3 separate regions of the Homo sapiens genome follow, and regions 1 and 3 are each linked to region 2. The links are contacts of gene promoters, found by promoter capture Hi-C in human tissues and cell types (Jung and others, 2019). All regions are on one chromosome and are shown on one strand. The core of a region is centred on a gene start or on the middle of the fragment in contact, and the rest is flanking DNA. Distances in the headings are between cores, read along the strand shown. Region 1 overlaps SV2C (synaptic vesicle glycoprotein 2C). Region 2 holds the start of POC5 (POC5 centriolar protein). Region 3 overlaps SV2C (synaptic vesicle glycoprotein 2C).

Region 1 (3,205 bases), core at 410-2,909, 560 kb before region 2:
AATCCCACTCACGTAGGCCTGTTTTATTGTCTTGACAGCTCTTATCACTATCTGAAGTTGTCATATTCATGTGTTGTTTACATATTACCTGTCCCTCTCCCACCAAGAGAGCAGGAACCCTGCTTTTCCCACTCATCAAGACCTCCTAAGCAAGTGCTAGTCCATAGGAAGTGTTCTTTTAATGTTTGTTGAACACACACACACACACACAATGTGTACATGAGCATGGGCAAAATCACTGCAGGTTACAGGACCACAGACCCAGATTTTCTTTTGATTATTTTCTTTCTGAATCTACACTAAACAGCAAAATAACCTTGATTCACTTTTTCAAATTAAGTTTGTATTATCTTCATAGAGTAAAACTTTATTTGTTTTTAGTTATACAGTTCTATGAGCTTGACAAATGCAGAGTCATGTAACCACCATCATTATCAGGGCACAGAACAGTTTCATTACCTCAAAACATTCCCTCCTGCTGCCCCTTGAGAGTCACCTCTTCCTCCAGCCCTAACCCCTGGCAATCACTGATCTCTTGTCTGTCCCTATAGTTTTGTCTTTTCTAGAATATCATATAAATGGAATCATATTGTACATAGCTTTTGGAATCTGTTTTTTTTTTTTTTGAGACAGGTCTCCTAGGTCACCCAGGCTGGCGTGCAGTGGCGTGATCTCAGCACTGCAGCCTTGGCTTCCCAAGTGATTCTCCTGCCTCAGCCTCCCAAATGGCTGGGACCACGGGCAAGCGCCACCATGCCCGGCTAACTTTTTGTAGAGACGGAGTTTCACCATATTATCCAGACTGGTCTTGAACTCCTGGGCTCAAGCCATCCTTCTGCCTCGGCCTCTCAAAATGCTGAGGTTACAGGTGTGAGCCATTGTGCCCAGCCTTGGTCTGGTTCTTACACTTTGCGTTACAGTCGAGATTTATGCAAACTGTTGCACATACCTGTGGTTTGTTCTTTTTCATTGTGTTGTAGTATTCCGTTGTGTAAATATATCACATTTAGTTTATCCACTCACCAGTTGAAGGACACTTAGATTGTTTCCAGTTTTGGGTGATTATGAATAAAATTGCTATATACATTTCATACAGGTTTCTGTGTGCCCCCAAAATTTCCTTGGGTAAATATGTAGGAGTGGAATGGTCGAGTCACATAATAAGCTCATGTTTAGCTTTACAGCAGACTGCCAAACCATTTTGCACACTGGTTGTGCCATTTTGAATTCCCACCAGTAGTGTATGCAAGCTCTAGCTGCTTCGCATCTTTCCCTTCACTTGTTAGGTTTCTTTTCTTAAATTTTAGCCTTTCTTATAGGTATCTAGTGGTATCTCATCACAATTTTAATTTGTGTTTCCCTAATGCCTAGTGATATCTTCATTTACTTTTTGTTCATTCATTCCTACTTTAGTGCCTATATGTGCCTGTCATAATGCTGTGATATGGAGACTGATTCCCTGATCTCAAGGAAGTTATAATCCATTGAAAAAGGCAGATATGTTAACAGACAAGGCCAGATGTGTTGGCTCACACCTGTAATCCCAACCCTTTGGGAGGCCAAGGCAGCAGGACTGCTTGAGGACAGGATTTTGAGACCAGACTGGGTAACATAGCAAGGCTTCATCTCTAAAAAAAAAAGAAAAGAAAGAAAGGAAGAAAAAAGCTAGTTGTGGTGGTGCATACCTGTGGTCATAGCTACTAGGTGACAGAGTGAGATGCTGTCTCAAAAAAAAAAAAAAAAGAAAAAGAAAAGGCCAGGTACTGTAGCTCATGCCTGTAATTCCAGCACTTTGGGAGGCTGAAGTGGGTGGATCACCTGAGGTCAGGAGTTCGAGACCAGCCTGCACAAAGTGGCAAAACCTCGTCTCTACAAGAAATACAAAAGTTAGCCAGGCACATGCCTGTAGTCCCAGCTGCTTGGGAGGCTGAGGTGGGAGGATCACTTGAGCCCTGAGAGGGAGTCCTGGAAAGGGTGTTGGGTACTCCTCCTGCCTTGTGGCATGTCCCATAGCAGGGGGCAGGGTCAAAGGCTGATGGGTGATAACCTGTGGCTTGAATGAGAGATAGACACCATGAGGGCCTCAAGAAATGACCCTGCAAATGCTTTGTAAAACTATGATACCATTCTCTGGGTTAAACATAGATATAAGAACGAAGGTGTAAAACACTGACAACCATCACTACTCAGCCATCAATTCTCAGGACCTGCTTTTGAGCTCCATTTTAAGTGGCTTAAATTTGAATTTGAGAGCTACACAAAGCCTACACTACAAAATCAGAAAGTGGAGAGACAGCAACGTGGAATAAAGGACAGGAATGGGAAAACAAGCCACAATCAACTGGGAAAGTGGGTTGTTGCTTTTGGATACTTACCTGCAGTTAGTAAAATGGATTCTTTTAAATGAACCTTTTATATTGGCACCACACCTTTTTGTCTTCAAAATATGTCTTGTATGAGTGATGATTCTAATTATCCTTTGGACTTTGTTAAGATACTCAAATGTTAAGACATTCAAATGTCATACCGAGGAATTTATCTACAGATAATATAAGTTCCATGCAAGGAAGGATCTCAATTTTACAGAAAGCAGTTCTAGCACAGCACTAATCAGTGTGGAGCTAATAAAAGTATTATATGTCATGAATAATAATCAAAGCTTTTTACCAGCCTTAAGCTGATGTGCTCTGTGACCGCAGAAAACAGCTGCCTCCCCAGTTGCCTGACTGTCTGAAACCTTTCAAGGTGCCAAGGCAGAGGTATGTGACACACATACAAGGATGCTGGCTTTCATGTTCTTGTCTGGGCTCTGTCCCTGATCCCCTGGGGACTTGACACCTACTTTGCTGATCTATATTTGTTTTGTTTTTGTTTGTGTTCGTTTTTTTTTTTTTTGAGACAGACTTTCGCTCTGTTGCCCAGGCTGGAGTGCAGTGGCACGATCTTGGCTCACTGCAAGCTCTGCCTCCCGGGTTCACGCCATTCTCCTACCTCAGCCTCCCGAGTAGTTGGGACTACAGGCGCCCGCCACCATGCCCAGCTAATTTTTTGTATTTTTAGTAGAGATGGGGTTTCACCGTGTTAGCCAGGATGGTCTTGATCTCTTGACCTCGTGATCTGCCCGCCTCGGCCTCCCAAAGTGCGGGGATTACAGGCGTGAGCCACTGCACCTGGCCTACTGATCTGTATTTGACTGTCGGTTATG
Region 2 (3,336 bases), core at 772-3,271:
TTGTTTACTAAATGGTTTGCGATAAAAATCTCTCCTCCCCAAAAAGGAAGACAGAAAAGAGAAACTTGGAGCCTAGTGGCAGGAGGGCACCAGAAGAGTGATTCAGTATCAATTATAGTGTATGGGGTCACCAAAAGGCAATTCAATTAAAAAACAAATACTAGAACCAAGTATGAATTTGCAGCTATTAATAGGAACTTGTCCTCTATAATAAGCATGAAAAAAAAGGGGGAGAACAAACATAATTTATGCCAAAGAAACTTCTGGTGCTCTTCTTACTTGTTTGTGTAAGTAGAAGTCTGGTTCTGCCAACATAAAAGTAAGTGAGACCCAGGTTATGTCATTTCTATCTACAGAAAAAGAAACCTTATACTGGAGGTAACAGAAGGGAGCCTGAAAACTCACCCAGATCTCAGTATCTGTTCTTCAGATTGCAGAACCCCAGTCTGGGCTACTTAGGTACCTTTGCCATCTGGGTCCTCATACCTCTAGCCTATCTGTTGCCAATGTAAGTTGAAAGACTATATGTTTGTGTGTTCGGTGTTTTAGATATATTAATTCCTTTAATCTCCTACCACCTTAGTATGTGAGTAGTATTATCCAAGGTGACAGCGAGTAGATGGTAAAGCTAGATTATAATTATGATCTGATTCTAAGGCCAATACTTCACCAGAAGGCTCTATCTTGAAGTCTGACACGTTTGAGATTAGTTAAAACTAGACTACCAATTTTGGTTTTTTCTTTGTTTTTTGAGACAGAGTCTCACTATCACCCAGGCAGGAGTGCAGTGGCGATATCTTGGCTCACTGCAACCTCTGCCTCCTGGGTTTAAGGGATTCTCCTGCCTCAGCCTTCGGAGTAGCTGGGACTACAGGCGTAAGCCACCACACCCGGCTAATTTTTGTATTTTTAGTAGAGATGGGGTTTCACCATGTTGGCCAGCCTGGTCTCGAACTCCTGACCGCAGGTGATCCGCCTGCCTCGTCCTCCCAAAGTGTTGGGATTACAGGCGTGAGCCAACGCGCCCAGCCTAGACTAGCAATTTCTCAAAGGGTGGTCTGCAGACTCCTGCATCAGAATCACTGGCAGTGTGTGTTAAAAATTCAGATTTCCTGACGGTGTCCATGACCGAAGGAATCAACACCTTCGGCCGGGCGTGGTGGCTCACGCCTGTAATCCCAGCACTTTGGGAGGCCGAGGTGGGCGGAACACCTGAGGTCAGGAGTTCGAGACCAGCCTGGCCAACATGGTGAAACTCCATCTCTACTAAAAATACAAAAATTAGCCAGGCGTGGTGGCGGTCGTCTGTAATCCCAGCTACTCGGGAGGCTGAGGCAGGAGAATCCCTTGAACCTGGGAGGCGGAGGTTGCAGTGAGCCGAGATAGTGCCACTGCACACCAGCCTGGACGGCAGAGCAAGACTCCATCTCAAAAAAAAAAAAAGCACCTCCAAGTGATTCTGTTGCAGGGGATCTGTGGATGATGCAGATTTTTTTTTTGTTTTTAATTTTTTATAGAGAAAGGGTCTCCCTATGTTCCCCAGACTAGTCTCGAACTCCCGGGCTCAAGCGATCCTCCCACTTCGGCCTCCCAAAGTGCCGGGATTACTGGCATGAACCACCACACCTGGCCCAGAATTTCGGATTGTTCTTATGCAGACGAAAGCATTAGGACTCATATCTAGGTTACCGGAATTGTTGAAAGCCAACAGCACACGGCATTAGCCAACTTCAGCCCTGCTCAACAGCCTCTATCCAAATCAGCTCCCGGAGCCGCTTAGCAGCCTGCAGCCGCTGAACAGAACTGAGCACGCGCAATATTTAATCCCCACGGGCGCTGGGTGGGGCTCCCTAGGACCCCGCCCCCTACCAACCTGCGGAGCCAGGGGGCGGGGCTCTCCAAAGTAATTCCGGCTTCTCCCGGCAGCGGCCCAAATCCCCGCCCCCAGCTCTCGGACCAATCAAACGGCAGATTGCTGAAACAAAGGACCAATGCCCAGGGCGGTCCTTAATTCCTCCCTGCAGTTTGAAACTGTCAGGTTGCCGTCTAGGTAGCGGTTGTGCTTGCTGAGGCTGCACTTGCTGACACTGCAGCTGCGACGCGGCTAAGAGGCGCAGAGCGAGGAGTCGGGATTTGGTCGCGAGCGGCGACGGTGGGTAGCAGCGCTCCGGGCAGATCCTGCGTCCCTGCATCCCTGGCGAAAGTAGTGGAGGGAGATTTAAAGTTCCTTGGCGCGTGTTTCCTCCCCCTGGGCTCTTCCCCAGACCGCGAGTGATTCAGCTGTTGTGCCGGAAGGTCCCAAAGTTTCCCCTCCGAGGCGTGCAGGAAGAGGAAGTGAGCAGGAGTGAGGGATGCTGAGCGATTACTGTCATCAGAGGTTCCGGTCACTTAAAACGTTGAGAAAAAATAACCATGTATAAAGCTCTGTTGTGCTTAAGTAAGATTTTTCTTAAAACAGGCTGGGTCGGAAGGTGATGGAAGAAAACTTATGGCCTTTTGCTTACTGCAATGGCTTTTCTCCTCTGCTTCTAGTCCCTGCTTTGGGGAGGGGCTGGCGCGCCCCTTTCCTTGAGTGCAGCTAGGCCTGGTGAAAGGCACAGGCGACATCACCCTGCTGCTAGTTTGCATGTTAATTCGCTCTTCCTTTGCCTCTTGGGGGTTCCATTTGAATTCCCAGACCCCTGTTTTGCTGTCAGCCAGATAATTACCAAGATGTTATTTTATGTTTCTGGCAACAGAGAAGCACACAAAAGTTTTGATCTTGTTTTCTGATACCTTGGATTAGAGACTACTGAAAATGTAGTGAACTAATGTGCGTCCGCCACCCATTAAAGCAGTTTTCATTTTTCTCCTTTGTTTCTGAACCTAGAAACAGTAAGGAAAATGCTACTGTTCTAGAGTTTCAAATAACTCATACCTTGTTGACATAAAGCAGGGCAGATGGAAGATAGCATATTTTCCAAGAGTGCGGTGGGTTTTTTTGTGTCTGCAGTGTGTCCATATTAAGAAACAATTTTTGAGATCTGACCATACTTACTAGCTCATTTTTAAATAATCAGCACCCCCCCCCCCCCACCCCTGTTACCTGCCTGGTCTCAAATCCTGAAGGAAGAAGTGAATAAAAATATAAATGGACCAAGTTATCACAGTGGTAGATTTGAAGTCAGTGAAGCAGCCATTCCTTGCTGCAGATACATGCACTTATTTTATCCTCCCTAATTGGCTTAACTAAAGACAGTCATGCTGAGATTTAGTTTACTTAACATGTGTATGCACAGTGATACTCACTGGAAAAAGTTGAACTTTCCTTTCCACAATTTAGTTCCAGCCTGTGTT
Region 3 (3,273 bases), core at 118-2,617, 600 kb before region 2:
ATGCATCTTATAAGGGGCAAAATGCAGCATTTAGCACACATCTTTCTTTGTTTGATTTGTAAATTTGTAAGTGTGGGTTTTTCTTTGACAAGTCATAACTACTCATCGCTACTTGTACTGTACCTAATGATAGTTGTTTCCATAACGTGTGGACTCTTCATAACCGAGATATTTATTGTGGTTATTATCCAACCATCCTCCTTTCTGCACCATGGGAAAGGAATAAACACTCCTCCCTGAGCTGCACAAATCCAGTCTGTGAGTTAGTGCACAGCCAGTGATTTTGTGGGTTACATCACACCTAATAAAGGGCAGTAAGCACGGATTTTCTTTTTGGCTAAGACACCTAGAAAGTAGAGTATGCAGGCTCCTGAAGTGAGGCAAAGTTGCCAACTGTTTGGAATGTGGGAAGAGTATGACAGAATCTCTGACTGAAAGAAACTTCTTGAGAAGAGGGTAAGCTAATTTCATATTCTTCCTCTTCTTTTTTTAAAGCAAGAGACTAGTAATGGCAGCAACCACTAAAAACATAAGGAGATTTAATATACTGATAACTACTTTCAAATGAAATTGCTTGAGCCTATATGTTGTGTACCAAAGAAGACTTAATTATACTAGAATGACCCCGTCCCCACCTCCCCCACCTCCATGGATATGCCATGAGGCTAAACTGTCTTTTTGCTGTTTTTTAGAAATATGAATAGATGTTTTTGAGCAGCTTTAGGTTTACAACAAAAAAAGTGAACAAAAAGTAGAGTTCTCTTATACCCTCAGTTTCCACTAGTAACTTCTTGCTTTGGTATGGTACATTTGTTACAACTGATGAGCCAATATTGACACGTTGTTATTAGCCAAAGTTCAATTACATTACATTGGTGTTGTACATTCTGTGGGTTTTGACACATGTATAATGACATGTATCCATCATTACAGTATCATGTAGAATAGCTTTACTGCCCTAAAAGTCCCATGCTCCATCTATTCATTCCTCTCTCCCCACAACCCTGAACAATCACCAATCTTTTTACTGTTTCCATAGTTCTGCCTTTTCCAGGATGTCACAGAGTTGAAACCTCACAGTATGTAGCTTTTTAAAGACTGACTTCTTTCACTTAAAAAAAAAAAAAAAAAAGGAAGACGAGACGAGGCTATTGCTATGTTGCCCAGGCTAGTGTTGAACTCCTGGGCTCAAGCAATCCTCCCACCTCAGCCTCCCAAAGTGCTGGGATTACAGGTATGAGCCACCGTGCCTGGCTTTTCACTTTGTTAAACTAACATTTTAGTTTCTAGATTCTAGTGTCATAAATGACCAGATATATGTTGTAGTAGTAAGATAAGCTGGATTCTTCCGGGGAAAATGGCCTGAGTGTATGTTGCTGATAAGAAAAAGGAAACCACTTTTCTGTCATGAAGAAGTCTCTCAATGCTGAAACTGCAGAGTAACCCAGATAGGATTTGCATCTAGGTTAAAATAACCGTATTTTCCCAAACGACGAACCTCTGGTATAACTCAGAATAGCGTATAAAATGTGGGCTGCTATCTCCTTGTATCACTGAAACTGTACTCGAGGAATGGATGACTTCCTGAGATTCCTGGGCAGACTAAAGGCAGATGCGTTAGGAGCATCTGGTATCTGAGGGTTTTGAAAAAGACGATCAAATCCTTCTTAAGAATCTCCATTTTCATTTACCAAGCAAAGGCAGTTCTTTAGATGAAAATCTGGTGTGGATGCAAAGCACACAGCCTCCGTAAATTAGTGTCGGCATTCAAGAAAACGTGACTACCCTTTCCTTGGAAAAGTAAATTCTTCTTTCAAATATTTGCAGCTGAAGCGTGTAATTTTTCTTTTCTTTTTTTCTTTTTTTTTGAGATGGAGTCTCGCTCTGTGGCCCAGGCTGGAGTGCAGTGGCGCGATCATGGCTCACTGCAGCCTCGACTTCCTGGGCTCAGATGATTTTCCCACCTCAGCCTTTTGGTAGCTGGGACTAAAAGCTTGCACTGCCGCACACGGGCAATTTTTTGTGTTTTTTTTTTTTGTAGAGATGCAGGTTTCACCATGTTGCCCAGGGTGTTCTTGAACTGCTGGGCCCAATTAATCTGCCTGCTTCGGCCTCCCAAAGGGCTGGGATTACAGGCGTGAGCCACCACGCCCAGCTGGGCATGATTTTTCAATGCATCAGAGACACAGCTGTATTAGAAAAACCATTCACAAAGTGATTCTCCCTTGGGGTTATCTGTTTATAAAATAAATAGGCTTTTAGTTCATTTACTCTCTGTTCTTACTTAAAGGAAACTGTATTGCTTCTGCAGACACCCAAAGTACGAGTCACCTTTGCTCATAAAGTCCTTTGAGGGTGGGGAGCTCAGAGCTTGCAGAACCCTGACTTGCCGACTTCTCAGCTGTAGAATGAGTTAATGCATTATTTTTCAGATCAAATATGTTTTCATGCCTTCTCTTAAACAACAAGCACTGAAGGGAAAGAATGAAATGATCTAGTGTCATTCTATTGCTCCATGCTTTGCTTCTCATCTCTTCAGCCAGAAGCCTTTGCTCTCAATTTGTACTCAATCTACTTATTTAAAATTTTTAAATGTAAATTATTTCCCCCAAAAGTACCCTGTGACTGCAGCTGCCTTGTTGCTCATTCCATTAAGGTGGCTCTCCTCCCTGCATCATAAACTTCCTTGGTCTGAGACACATGTGCTGGTATATGGAGCTGGTTTGCAGCAGCACTTAGACTCACCTGGTGGGGATGTGGCCACCTCTGCAGCTGGATGGTGGCTCCCTCTCTGGGGCCTTCACGATTTATTGGGTTCTAGTTTATTTATATTGTTTCATGCTGTTTTTTTTTTCTTTCTTTCTTTTTGAGATGGAGTCTCACTCTATTGCCCAGGCTGGAGTGCAGTGGCACGATCTCGGCTCACTGCAACCTCCGCCTCCCAGGTTCAAATGATTCTCTTGCCTCAGCCTCCCAAGTAGCTGGGATTACAGGTGCGCACCATCATGCCCAGCTAATTTTTGTGTTTTTAGTAGAGACGGGGTTTCACCATGTTGGCCAGGTTGGTCTCGAACTCCTGACCTCATGATCTGCCCGCCTCGGCCTCCCAAAGTGCTGGGATTACCGGCATGAGCCACTGCATCTGACCCATTTTATGTTTTAGTTGGTGGTGGGGAAAAGAAAACTACTGGCTCCATTCTGGATAAAATGAGGATAATTTTGTCCTCACATCCAGCCTCTTTGTGGATTTTTCTGTCTTTAGTGCAGGGCCAG

Evidence for each region. Contacts are between HindIII fragments. The study calls those that stand out against the background at their distance.
Region 1: a contact is called between a fragment that was not itself captured here and the fragment with the promoter of POC5 in region 2, in 1 of the 25 tissues and cell types used here (lymphoblastoid cells).
Region 3: a contact is called between a fragment that was not itself captured here and the fragment with the promoter of POC5 in region 2, in 1 of the 25 tissues and cell types used here (spleen).

What each region holds. Positions count from the first base shown.
Region 1 is chr5:76,275,177-76,278,381 of GRCh38, reverse strand. All of the region lies in intron 4 of SV2C (synaptic vesicle glycoprotein 2C), which reads right to left. Among named protein-coding and RNA genes, the nearest start is that of SV2C-AS2, 35 kb to the left of the region's middle. The HindIII fragment of the contact is 4,277 bases long and covers 1-3,205 here.
Region 2 is chr5:75,716,122-75,719,457 of GRCh38, reverse strand. POC5 (POC5 centriolar protein) reads left to right here and starts at 2,021. Exons shown (of 12, transcript NM_001099271.2): 1 at 2,021-2,152. It overlaps LOC441087 (a long non-coding RNA gene), which reads right to left and starts at 2,026. Exons shown (of 3, transcript NR_149046.1): 1 at 1,874-2,026. RefSeq lists an enhancer at 2,316-2,625. The HindIII fragment of the contact is 10,988 bases long and covers 1-3,336 here.
Region 3 is chr5:76,318,013-76,321,285 of GRCh38, reverse strand. The region is part of intron 12 of SV2C (synaptic vesicle glycoprotein 2C); the gene reads right to left. Among named protein-coding and RNA genes, the nearest start is that of SV2C-AS2, 8.0 kb to the right of the region's middle. RefSeq lists a cis regulatory region at 1,367-1,384 and an enhancer at 1,303-1,447. The HindIII fragment of the contact is 6,535 bases long and covers 1-3,273 here.